Regions from separate parts of the Homo sapiens genome. Here region 2 is linked to region 1. Evidence: promoter capture Hi-C in 16 types of primary human blood cells and fetal thymus (Javierre and others, 2016). All regions are on one chromosome and are shown on one strand. The core of a region is centred on a gene start or on the middle of the fragment in contact, and the rest is flanking DNA. Distances in the headings are between cores, read along the strand shown.

Region 1 (6,405 bases), core at 1,768-4,267:
ACAAGACAGCAGGGAGACCATTCAGGGAGCTGCTAAAGTGGTCCAGGTAAGAGATAATGATGTTGACTTTGAGAGACATTTAGGAGGCATAAGTGCAGTAAGCTGGATCTGGAGAATAATGTAAAGATGGGACGCCTTGAAGGTGTCACTCAGATTTCTGGCTTAATGAATGAGTAATGCCACGAATGGACATAGGACATTACAGAAGGAGCAATACAGTTGGGAAATACTTAACATGTCAATAACCATTTACTGAGCACTGAGAAGGTGCAAACTACTATGCCAAGCACTTTATACACATTTAGGTGATTTAATACTCATAGCAACCCTAGGAGTGGGTACTATTATTGTCTTTTTTTAAAAACAAAGAGTGTAAATAGCTTTTCTGAGATAAGCAGACAAGAGTCAGGATTTGAACCCATGGCTATCTGATTTCTCAGTCTATGCTCCTGAGCCCCTCAGCAATTCTGCTTGAGGGAACTGCTAGCCATGACTCAAGACTCAGCTCAAGGCTTGGTTCCTCTAGGGAGCCTTCCCTGAATCTTCCTGGCTGGGCTGAAGATCCTCCTCTGTGCTGCGTGTGTATACTTCTGTCATCACATTTCTTACATTCTATTGACATTTTGTAGACCCATCTGTTTCTTTAGTCAGAGAACTCTGGAGGCAGGTTGGTCCCAGTCATTTTTGCATCCCCATTGCCTAGCACATGATTGGCTGACCAAATGCCAGTTACTCTGGACAGTTCTGTTCCCTTCTCCTCTCCACATATTCAGTTAGTGAGCAGGTTCTGCTAACAACGGTCTCCTAAATATTTATTTGTACTGTTGGGGCTCAGAAAGCGATACCCCAAAGACTGGCGCTTTGACATGCTGAGAGGCCTTCGAAGCTGCCTCAGAATCAAGGTCCCTCTAACCTTCTCTCCCAAGTATAGGGAGGCACTCTCTCTAGAATTTCCTAATCTGATCGAGAAAACGTCTTTCCAAAAGAAACAAAATTGCCTTCCTCCCCTCTCCGAAATCTCATCTAGCTCAGAAAAGAAGACTGAGGAAGGCAACTACGCCTGGATGGATTTTTCACAAGATGATGCCTGTTTCTCGGGCTCATTCAAATTCTAAAGAGAATCATTTACAAGTTAATTTCTGTCCATTTTTTCGCCCTAAGAATCACTTGCTGCCCTCAGAAGAATTGTCTATATTCTCCATCTCTCCCCTTCCCCTATGAAAAAGAGTGTATACGCTTCTGTACCCCATTGGGTTATTGGGTAATCATTCTCCTGTGACCCTTCCCTTCCCACCCCCTCGCCTCCCCGCCCCGTGCTATGCACGTTAAAATAAAATTTTGTATGTCTTTTCTCCTATTAATCTGCCTTTTGTCAGTTGATTTTCAGTGAACCTTGGCCCCTACAATACTGTTCCCTTTTCTCCATCTTCACTGCCAGAGCTTAGCTTTGAGCTGTTTGAGATAATAGAGGAAGGGTGTCTAATGTGATAAGCAGTCTATGTATGAGGCTTCCTCTGGAGGTGACCCTTAAGCTTGAAAATTGTGCCAGAGCACAATCTGGCATAGTAAAGAAAGGTGGGAAGGGCACTACATGGCCAGGCACGGTGGCTCATGCCTGTAATCCCAGCACTTTGGGAGGCTGAGGCGGGCGGATTGCTTGAGCTCAGGAGTTCGAGACCAGCCCTAGCAACATGGTGAAACCCAGTCTCTACAAAAAGTACAAAAATTAGCCAGGCCTGGTGGTGTGCATCTGTGGTCCCAGCTACTCGGAAGGCTGAAGTGGGAGGATCACTTGAGCCCAGGAGGTTGAGGCTGCAGTGAGCTATGATTGTGCCACTGCACTCTAGCCTGGGCAACAGAGCGAGAGTCCTGTTAAAAAAAAAAAAAAAAGCGGCCAGGCGCAGTGGCTCACGCCTGTAATCCCAGCACTTTGGGAGGCCGATGCGGGCAGATCACCTGAGGTCGGGAGTTCGAGACCAGCTTCCCCAACATGGAGAAACCCCTTCTCTATTAAAAATACAAAATTAGCCGGGCGTGGTGGTGCATGCCTGTGATCCCAGCTACTCAGGAGGCTGAGGCAGGGGAATCACTTGAACCTGGGAGGCGGAGGTTGCGGTGAGCCGAGATCACGCCATTGCACTCCAGCCCAGGCAACAAGAGTGAAATTGAACAACAACAACAAAAAAGGTGGGAAGGTAGATGAAAAAGCATCAATAAGGCACTGAGGTGTGAAACAGTGTGGTCTGCCGGGTTTAGTATGTGCGAGCAAAATAAATATGCAGGCTGAGATTAGTGGGATGAGGGTGGGAAGGGCCTTGTGGGAGCATTAACAAGCTTGAGCTTTGGGACTTTTCTGTATATGATAAAATTGATGTCTGTATAGGGTACAGTGGGGACACAGAGGAGGAAGTGAATACTTGTACCCAAGAGGTCATGTAAGACTTAGGTTTTACTATATTTGAATTATTTTTACACTAACAATAGCCACATTTATTTCCCTGCTGGCTGTGTGCCTGCCACAGTACTTTACAAATATTATCTCTTCCAACCCTCACACCATCCTTGCGAAATGGGTGTTATTACCTCTACACAGAAGGGGAAGGGAGGCTCAGACAGGTTAATAATGTTCCCAAGGTCACTAGAAAGCTAGCCCGGATCCCAAGAGGTCTTAAAGCACTAAAATATACTCTTCTAAGAAGAGCTTCTTGAGGTCAGGGATCATGTCTTTTGTTTTTGCGTGCCCAGACCTAGGTCTTAGAAGACGCCTAATAAACATCAGTTGAAAAAAATGACTGGATGATCTTTCACTTTTTCCACGCAGAAAACACGTGGCGACATCACTGAGAAACCTCCCGGCCAACAGAGGGCGCGACGTCCATTTCAGCGCAGTGGGGCCCAGTTGCGGACGCCTAGCTTCCTTCCGTCCTTTGGCTGAAGTTCAGCCAATCCCTGCGCTCCGAGAGAGCCGGCGGCCAGTGGGCAGGGTCACAGGGCAAGGTCCCGCGGGCCGCTGGGTGCGGCGACTTCCGTGCTCCCGGCGAGCGGGCGGAGAGCGGGGGCCGCACTGGGGAGTGTGGGCTGGGCCGCAGGTGAGCGCGCGGTCCCGGCGAGCAGGTCGGGTCAGCCCAGGCCAGTAACCTCTGAGTTACGGGAGGAGTGATCGCTAGGGTCCACCCCGGTCCCGGCCAGATCTGCCAGCTCCCCTCTCTGGCGGGTGTTCTGGTGCCAAGTCTGGGAGCCCAGGTAGCCCTCCGCAGACAGGGCTTCTCGGCACCTCAATGAGGACGGACGTTGATGAGGCCATGAATGAGGTGGGCTAGGGACAGGGGACCGGGAGACTCACAGAAGGGAGAAGGGTAGCCATTTGGATGGACCTTCGCCTTACTTGCGCTCCCATTCCTGGACTGCGCTCTAGTGACTGTCAGGGCTAATTCTTCCGCCTTCTCAGGCCTCCTGTGTCCTTGTTAGTAGTTCTTGAATTTGGGACTACGGCTTCTGGCCTCGTTGGGCCTCCGGGCCCTCGCACTGGGGCAGGTTTCCCAGCAGCCCAGTTGACCTTTACCGGATGCTTTTGGCAGACGTCCTCCATGCCGGGCTGGAAATATGCGTCACAGTGTTTTTCAGACACTTTTGCCTCTTTCATTGTGATACCCTGCCTGGGGACGACTATGATGGAGTCTTTAGGTTTTTGTAATCAGCAAAGGCATCTGTTATGCTCCTGCCACCTTTTGGGGGAGAGTGGGTGGAGGATGTTGTGATTTTACACTAGGGAGTTTGGGCTGTCATTCATTCGTTCAGCAGACCTTTTTTGGGCACTCTGCCAGGCAGGGTAGGAGAGGTGCCTGGATGGATAGGGCATAATTGGGCCAGACAGACACGGTTCTTAGCCTTTTGGAGCTTAAAGTGTCTTGAGAAACGCAGACAGGGTAAGCCAGCATCGTGCCTGACACAGAGTAAGTGGTTATAAGTGTCGAATAAAGGAATGAATTGACTTATTTGGGAATGATTAGAATGTGAGCAGGACGGTAGCGAGAGACTTTATGCTGCATGTGAGAGATAGTTGTGAACTCATGCGCGATATGTTTTAAGACAGGTTTGGAAATCTGAACGGACAGTTGCTATTTAGGGAAGCATTTACTTATACAGAGGACTTGCTTTAAAGGTGGAAGTAAAATGGAGAAGTATTAGGTTTGGGATTCTTCAGAGGTGCCTCTTTTAACTATTACTATGTCTCTGAATTTCATAAATCCCTGAGTACAATCTCAGAGTTTGGGAAAAGGAAAGCTCTTCTAGGTAATGAAATGCCAGGCTGATGGGAAAAAACTGTAGGAAGCTCTCCCTAAGTCCAGGGTTTGGACAGAAACCGTATACCTCTGCAGTGTGTTCTTCCCACTAGAAAGAGTGTAGGCTTTGAAATTGGAGAGGCCTGGGTTCAAAATCAGTGGCTCTATCACTTCTAGTGATCTTGGATAAGTTAACATAATGTCTGTGAGCCTTTGTGGCCTTCACAAGAGTCTGGGCTAATAATTCCTACATCATAGAGGTGTTATGAGGATCAAATGATGATTAGTGTGTAAATTGTCATCATAGTGCCTGGTGCTGAGACAATAAGCGGGGGAGTCTTGGAGATGCTGCAATTTTTTTTTTTTTTTTAAATTTCATGATGCTGCCTTATTGCAGGGGTCCTTAACCCCCTGGGCCACAGACCAGTGGTGGTCTTCAGCCCATTAGAAACTGGGCTGCACAGCAGGAGGTGAGCGGTGGGCAAGCTGGCAAGCATTACCGCCTGAGCTCCACCTTCTGATAGATCAGCAGCGGCATTAGATTCTCACAGGAGTGCAAACTCTATTGTGAACTGCGCATGTGAGGGATCTACGTTGTGTGCCCCTTATGAGAATCTAATGCCTGATGATCTGAGCTGGAACAGTTTCATCCCGAAACCATCCCTCTCCAACCCCCATCTGTGGAAAAATTGTCTTCCACGAAACTGGTCCCTGGTGCCAAATATAGATTGGGGACCGCTGCCTTATAGTGTTACGTCTAGAGAACATTGGGATTCCTTCAAAGAGAATTGGAACCAAAGAGAGAGGGGGAGAATCATCTTATCCTTGGTGAGGTTTCGATTGTTCACTTTAGATCAGAGATAGTAGTGTTGGAGAAATACCTACAGGGGCATAAACAGAAAGATCTTTTAGTGGATACTTTTGGGCAAGTCTCTTAACCCTCTGATAGTGGGTTATGTATCTACCTCACGTGGTGGACATGAGGATTAAGAGAGTGAGTGTATATGAAGCACCTAGCCCAAGGCCTGGCATGTAAGTGCTCAATAAATGGTAGCTGTGTTATTATAACTGTGAATGATCTTTGATAATTGATAATGGTAATAATCATTTGAGATGGAATTGGCCATTAGAGTGATCCAATTTGTGTGTTTTTACATTACTTTGGTATTGCCCTACTTCAATTCAGGAGGCCCTGAGGCCATTCCACTCCGCTCCCCGCCCCACCCCACCCCACCCCACCCCCCGGGCTTGTACAGTGATTTTTCACAGAAAATCTTCAGGTTCTGCGGTATCCAGAGTATGTATAATGATTTGTGATATTTTCAGGAGCTTTTTATGTAAATATGAAGGTATGGGTTTGGTTGAAGATAGGATTTTTTTTTTTTTCTTGAGACGGAGTTTCGTTCTGCCGCCCAGGCTGGAGTGCAGTGGCTTGATCTTAGCTCACTGCAACCTCCGCCTCCCAGGTTCAAGTGATTCTCCTGCCTCAGCCTCCTGAGTAATGGGGATTACAAGCCTCCCAAAGTTCTGGAATTACAGGTGTGAGCCACCGTCTTTAGCCAAGATAGGATATTTTGAAAATGGTTTAGTCAGCAGATTTGTAAAGTATAGGTTTGTTCCATTGTTAGAAAAGCCAGGTTCAGAACAGGATAAAACCATTATCTATTTACCTAAAATCCAGAATAATTAGGTAATGCATTATGTATTTGACTGTTTAAATATGCTCCTTATGCTTTACATGAGGAAAAGGAACGACTTTTCATATTGTGAAACCAGGAGATTCATCGTAGATTGTGTTTCATGGGGAAAAGGTGGCCGGCTGTGCTCATGGAGAAATTTCATAGAGCAGAGAAAGGCATCTTTTTCCCTTCTTGAAATGTTGGCAGACTAGGTCCTGGGGTCAACAATAGGCTTGAAGCTCTATTAGGTAAGGCTCAGAGGTCCCCTTGTGGGGAACATTGTCATATATTGGTGCACACTTGTCAAAGAGTACGGTCCGTAAAATGGAGATCCTTCCTTCTTCCCTAACAATGGAATCTTTTGAAATTTCCTAGATTATTTCAGGGATCCACCTCTCGCATTGCTCTGCACGGGGGTGGGTGCTCAGTAAATTGTGCCAGGC
Region 2 (7,364 bases), core at 4,605-7,104, 130 kb before region 1:
GACCCACCAACAACACTTCTAAGACTTTATTCTGTAGATAAACTAGCACATGTAGAATTAATTTATGTCTAAATATACTCATCATAGCATTGTTTATAATAGTAAAATATTTATAACATCCTAGATATGTTCATCAGGGATTCTTCAGATTACTTATGGTACATTTAATAATGGAATACTATACAAGCTGTTATTAGGCAGCTTTATACAATGTTATGTAAATGGACCTCCAAGATAGTTTGCTAAGTGACAAGAGCAAGGTTCTGAATCTTGGTAATAATAGGCTACACTTTGTAGTCAGAAGCAACTTTGTTTAATTACATACACCATCTCTAGAAGGATATATAGTAGTGCCACTTATCTGTGGCTTGAAAATATTAAATGGAAAATTCCGGAAATAAACAATTCGTAAGTTTTAAATTGTGTGCCATTCTGAGTAGCACGATGAAATCTCATGCCATTCTGCCTGGGATGTAAATCATCTCTGTCTAGCATATCCACACTGTGTGTACTACCCATCACTAGTCAGTAGCCATCTCAGTTATCAGGTCACAAGAAGAAGGATGAGTACAGCACATTAAGATATTTTGAGAGAGAGTACCTTCACATAATTTTTATTATAGTATATTGTTATAATTGTTCTATTTAGTAGTTACTGTTAACCTCTTATGCCTAATTTATAAATAAAACTTTATCATAGGTATATATGTATAGAAAAAACATTGTGTGTGTGTGTGTATATATATATAGAACCCTATATACATAGAGGCAACATATATACATATACAACGTATATACATATATTGTATATGTGTATACAATCCTGTAGACATATTTCAGGCAACACAGTGGTTGCCTGAAACCATGAATCATACCAAACCCTATATACATATATACATATGTATATATATAGAGAGAGAGCACTTAGCACTTACCACTACCTGGAATTATATATATATATACACACATACATATGTGTGTGTGTATGTGTGTGTGTGTATATATGTATATGTATACATATATACTTACGTATATACATACATATATACGTATGTAAGTATATATATTACATATATATACGTATGTAAGTATATATATTACATATATATACGTATGTAAGTATATATGTATACATATATACATATAGATATGTATATATCCATATTATGATATATTATGGATATATGTATACATATATATATATATGTCTATATATACACACATATATACATGTGTGTATAGGCTTCGGTATGATCCATGGTTTCAGGCAACCACTGGGGGTCTTGGAACATATTCCCGGCAGATAAGGGGGAACAACTGTATAAGAAACTGGGAACAGTGGTTGTGTTCAAGGTTGAGTCTGGGTGGACGGCAGTCATTCATGTGTATATTACTTTAATTGCAAAAACCACAATTATTTTTGTACCAACGCAATACTTCTGTACATTTTGAATTTTGCACTGAGTTCATGTATTACTTTTGTTTAAATTAAATTTAAATATAACCTCCAATGGCTTCCCATCACATTTAAAATACAATCCTAATTTTGTTTTTGACTGAGACCTTCCAGATCCTATACAATTTAGTTTCTGCCTACCTCTCCAAATGTATCATTCTCCCCTTGCTTACTGTCTTTCAGCCTTGTTCTTGTTGATGTTCCTAAAGCATGCCAAGCTTTCTCCCACTTCAGGGTTTTTGCACCTATAGTCTGCCTGCCTGGACTCTTCAGACCTTAGACCTTTGCATGGCTTACTCTTTTGAATAATTCAAAAGGTCTCTGCTCAGATGTTTACTTCAGAATTGCCCCTCCTCCATGCCATCACTCTCCATTCCTGTACGCTGCTTTATTTTCTTCATCGCACTTATCACTACCTAGAATTATATATTATTTGTTTTACTTGTTTATTTTTTGTGTCTTCCTCTAGAATGTAAGGCTCATATGAGCAGAACTTTGTCTTGTTTTCTGCGGTATCTCCACGGCTTAGAACAGTGCCTGGCTTGTAGTAAACATTCAGGAAATAAATATTGAGTGAATACACATGTTTTAAGTACATTCCTCCACTCTGTTGTTTGCCCTATAACTTTGTTTTATAAAGACCTTTGTTTACAGAAGTTTTTTTTTTTTTTGGATTAAAAAACTTTACTTTTTGGCCGGGCACGGTGGCTTACGCCTGTAGTCCCAGCACTTTGGGAGGCCAAGGTGGGTGGATCACGAGGTCAGGAGATTGAGACCATCCTGGCTAACACGGTGAAATCCCATCTCTACTAAAAATGCAAAAAAAATTAGCCGGGCGTGGTGGCGGGTGCTTGTAGTCCCAGCTACTCAGGAGGCTGAGGCAGGAGAATGGCATGAATCCAGGAGGCAGAGGTTGCAGTGAGCTGAGATCATGCCACTGCATTCCAGCCTGGGTGACAGAGCGAGACTCCGTCTCAAAAAAAAAAAAATTAATTTACTTTTTAAGAGCTTTATTATGATAGGCAGAATAGTAGCCCCCCAAAGATGTCCATGTCCTTGTCCACAGAATCTGTGAATATGTTACATTACATGGCAAAGGTGAATTAAGGTAGCAAGTGGCATTAGGGTTCCTAATCAGCTAACCTTAAAATAGGGAGATTATCCTGGATCATCTGAGCAGTTTTAAATTTTGAGGTAGTCAAATGTATCAGTCTTTTCTACTTTGATTTACTCTTTTGTGTTTTATTTAAGAATACTTTGTGATCCCAGCTGGGAGTGGTGGCTCACGCCTGTAATCCCAGCACTTTGGGAGGCCGAGGTGGGCGGATCACGAGGTCAGGAGTTTGAGACCAGCCTGGCCAACATGGTGAAACACCATCTCTACTAAAAATATAAAAAATTAGCCAGGCGTGGTGGCGCACGCCTGTGGTCCCAGCTACTCAGGAGGCTGAGGCACAAGAACTGCTTGAACCTGGGAGGCGAAGGTTGCAGTGAGCTGAGATTGTGTCACTGTACTCCAGCCTGAGTGACAGAGTGAGACTCCGTCTCAAAAAAAAAAAAAAGAAAAAAGAAAAGAATACTTTGTGATCTGTTTATTTGAAAGTTCTCTAGTGACTTTAGTTCTTTTTTTTTCCCTGAGATCTTTAATTGATGTGGAATATATTTTTGTGTATGGTCTGAGGTTGGATCTAATTTTTCTGAGTAGCCAGTTGTCCTAATCAGCAAGATTAACAATTGTTTTCATTGTTTTGATCATACTTATTTTAAAAATATATATTATATGTATAATTTTTATATTTATAGTTTATAAATATATTTTTATATTTATAGTTTATAAGTATATTTTTATATTTATAGTTTATAAGTATATTTTTATATTTATAGTTTATAAGTATATTTTTATATTTATAGTTTATAAGTATATTTTTATATTTATAGTTTATAAGTATATTTTTATTTTTATAGTTTATAAGTATATTTTTATTTTTATATTTACAAATATATTTTTATATTTATAGTTTATAAATATATTTTTATATTTATAGTTTATAAATATATTTTTATATTTATATTTATAAATGTTTTTTAAAATCAGTAAATTAAACTAATACTGATTGGGAGAAGTAGGAATCTGTGTGTATTTTCCAAGGTGACTTTTTTATTGCAACCACTCTTTCAGAGGAATTATATTTCTCTTGATGTATATGAACTTTCAATTGATAGCAATTATAGTCAGTGATAAGGTACTAAAAAAAATCTTTCTTTGGTTTCTGAATTTGCTTTTAACTAGGAAAGTACACAGGAAGATGCTATGAAATTTCCATCTTCCCAATCTTCCCAGCCTTCCAGGCTTTTAAAGAACAAAGGCATATCATGCAAACCCGTCACACAGACCAAGGCCACTTCTTGCAAACCACATACACAGCACAAAGAATGTCAGACAGGTATGTATCCTTGTGCGTTCCCATGTACAAAGCTTGTTTTCTGGCTTGTTTGTTTTTGTTTTTTAAGAAAGGAAAAGAAAATAATTGACAGAGTCTTAAATGTGAAAACATTCCTTTTCTTGGATCACATGCTTTGAATACTTAATTTATTGCTTTCATAATTATTAACACTAATAACCAGCTATCATAACAAGCTATTATAATTACTAACATACAGTTTTAGTTAAAAGCATTAGTGATTTAACCTGTTTTTTTTTTTAAATACTGCGAATTCAGTTGTCAGTTGCTAACAGTACAATTAATTTATCTGAGGTATTGGTGACGATGAAAATTGTTTGAGCTTTACTTGAAAAAGTTGTGAAGTATTACTTTTAATCCCACTACCCTTAGATTTTCAATTGCTTTAATAGTCTACTGTGCCTAAAGCACTGGGTTTTTTTTTGTTTGTTTGTTTGTTTTTTTTGAGATGGAGTTTCACTCTTGTTGCCCAGGCTGGAGTGCAATAGCGTGATCTTGGCTCCCTATAACCTCTGCCTCCTGGGTTCAAGCGATTCTCCTGTCTCAGCCTCCTGAGCAGCTGGGATTACAGGTGCCTGCCACCATGCCCGGCTAATTTTTGTATTTTTAGTAGAGACGGGGTTTCATCACTTTGACCAGGCTGGTTTTGAACTCCTGACCTCAGGTGATCTGCCTGCCTCGGCCTCCCAAAGTGCTGGGATTACAGGCATGAGCCACCGCCCCTGGCCTGATTTTTGTTTTTAATAATAATTTTACTTCATAGAATACACTATATTTAAAAGCTTAGTCTGTCAACAAGTAGTAAGTTTTTATGTAGGGTACCTTTATTTTGGTAGAAGTCAAGCAGAATCCTGTTTTCCTTCCTCAGGAAATTTATTTTATATTCCTATTAAAACAATATATTATTTGTACCTGAATTTATATTATATACACGTTCACACATGGAGAGTACTAAAGGATCTGTGGGCATCTATATGTGTGTATGTGTGTGTGTATGTTTGTGTGTGTGTGTGTGCTTATGTTTTGAGTTCTAGATTAAATATTGAATTGTTGGTCAGACGTGGTGGCTCATGCCTATAATCCCAGCACTTTGGCAAGCCAACATGGGCGGATCACCTGAGGTCAGGAGTTTGAGACCAGCCTGACCAACATGGTGAAACCCCATCTCTACTAAAAATACAAAATTAGCTGGGCATGGTGGCACAGGACTGTAATCCCAGCCACTCAGGAGGCTGAGGAAGGAGAATCGCTTGAACCTGGGAGGTAGAGGTTGCGGTGAGCTGAGATCGCGCCATTGTGCTCCAACCTGGGCAACAAGAGTGAAACTCCGTCTCTTTTAAAAGAATAAATCTCGAATGTTTTCTAACAATCGAAATTACTTTTTCATTTGACATTGCATTGGAAACATTATTCCACAACAATATAAATTTAAATATACATTGAGATTATTTTTTTCCAATTTTTATTTTATTATGTTTATTTTATTTTATTCGGGGGTACATGTGCAGATTTGTTACCTGGGTATGAGATTCTTAACATAGATTTCAGTGTATATAATATAACCAACTCCGTTAAGATTGGAAATTTAGATATTTGTATTATAAGCAATGTTGGGTTAAGCTATGTTAATGGATCTTTGTCCACTTGCCTAATTATGTCCTTAGGATAAATCCTAATCAGTGGAAGTGTTGATTCAAAGACTATCATCTTTTTTTTTGTTTGTTTTTGTTTTTGAGACAGAGTCTATCTCTGTCACCCAGGCTAGAGTGTAGTGGCGCGATCTCGGCTCACTGCAACCTCCACCTGCCAGGTTCAAGCGATTCTCCTACCTCAGCCTCCTGAGTAGCTGGGATTACAGGCACCTGCCACCATGCCCAGCTAATTTTCTTTTGTATTTTTAGTAGAGACGGGATTTCACAGTGTTGGCAACGCTGGTCTCAAACTCGTGACCTCATGATGTGCCCGCCTCAGCCTCCCAAAGTGCTGGGATTACAAGCGTGAGCCACCGCGCCGGCCTATCATCTATTCTTAAGTATTTTGATACCTGTTGCCTAAATTGCCCTCCTGAAAAGTTACATCAATGTATGCTCCAACCAGCAGTGTTCAGGAGGATCCATTTCTCTACAACCTCACTGACACTGAGTATCAAAATTCAGAAAGGTTGAATATACAGTACAGTCAATACTAGTATACTCTTCATCCAGATTAATGAAATGTTAACTTTTTGCAATATTTATTTTCTTTTTTTTTCTGGATTGTTTGAAAGTAAAACATTATTTTTCTGTCTCTTTTTCTTCCTTTTCTTTCTTTTTTTTGAGATGGAGTTTCACTCTTGTCTCCCAGGCCGGAGTGCAATGACATGATCTCGGCACATTGCAACCTCCGCCTCCCGGGTTCAAGCGATTCTCCTGCCTCAGCCTCTCAAGTAGCTGAGATTATAGGCATGTACCACCATGCCTGGCTAATTTTGTGTTTTTAGTAGAGACGGGGTTTCACCACGTTGGCCTGGCTGGTCTCGAACTCCTGACCTCAGGTGATCTGCCCGCCTTGGCCTCCCAAAGTGCTGGGATTACAGGTGTGAGCCCCATGCCTGGCCTTTTTTTTCTTTTTCTTTAAAAAAATTTTTTGACACCAGTGTCACTCACCAATAAAAAATTTATTCTTTTTGTTTTTTTTTGAGACGTAGTCTCAAGAGTGCAGTGGTGTGATCATGGCTCTCTGCAGGCTCAACCTCCTGGGCTCAGGCAATCCTCTTGCTTTAGCTACCCAAGTAGCTGGGACTATAGGTGTGTGCCATTGCATCCAGCCAATTTTTTTTCTTCTTCTTTTTTTTTTTTTAATGTAGAGATGGAGTTTCGCCATGTTGCCCGGGCTGGTCTCTAACTCCAGGGCTCAAGTGACCCACCCACCTTGGTGTCCCAAAGCACTGGGATTATAGGTGTGAGCCACCCTGCTCAGCCAAAAAGTTTATTGTTAATTTGATGTGTATCATGGTCTTCAGCCCTAATTTCAATAACCTATTGGGTGCTTGGGATTACTTGTACATGTACCACATCCTACAGTTTTATTATACCTAGTGATCAAGCTTTGGGCAAAGGAGAAATTCAGTTTTCAGTAGCATCATTGGAAGTATTATGACTTGTGCTTAAACTTTTACCAGTGCATTCTTTTGATAAATAGAAATAGTAACAAAATATGAATTTTAAATATGTGGGGAGATACATAAAGAACATTGCTTATTTGTTCTTGAAAATAACAGTGATTCAAATATTTCATTCAGATTTACCTATGCCTAATGAAAAAAATGATGCAGAACTTGATTCTCCACCTTCAAAGAAAAAAAGATTAGGTTTTTTCCAGACTTATGATACAGAATATTTAAAAGTTGGTTTTATTATCTGTCCTGGATCAAAAGAAAGTTCACCAAGGCCACAGTGTGTCATTTG

What was found. The method cuts DNA at HindIII sites, captures the fragments that hold promoters and counts their contacts. A CHiCAGO score of 5 or more calls a contact.
Region 2: a contact is called between a fragment that was not itself captured here and the fragment with the promoter of SMIM12 in region 1, in 1 of 17 cell types (activated CD4 T cells). The highest score is 5.5, in activated CD4 T cells.

Annotation. Positions count from the first base shown.
Region 1 is chr1:34,856,361-34,862,765 of GRCh38, reverse strand. It overlaps SMIM12 (small integral membrane protein 12), which reads left to right and starts at 3,017. Exons shown (of 2, transcript NM_138428.6): 1 at 3,017-3,089. RefSeq lists a silencer at 3,066-3,195. The HindIII fragment of the contact is 6,874 bases long and covers 2,337-6,405 here.
Region 2 is chr1:34,988,770-34,996,133 of GRCh38, reverse strand. ZMYM6 (zinc finger MYM-type containing 6) reads left to right here. Exons shown (of 16, transcript NM_007167.4): 15 at 3,747-3,900; 16 at 7,199-7,364. Among named protein-coding and RNA genes, the nearest start is that of TMEM35B, 7.1 kb to the right of the region's middle. The HindIII fragment of the contact is 2,303 bases long and covers 4,703-7,005 here.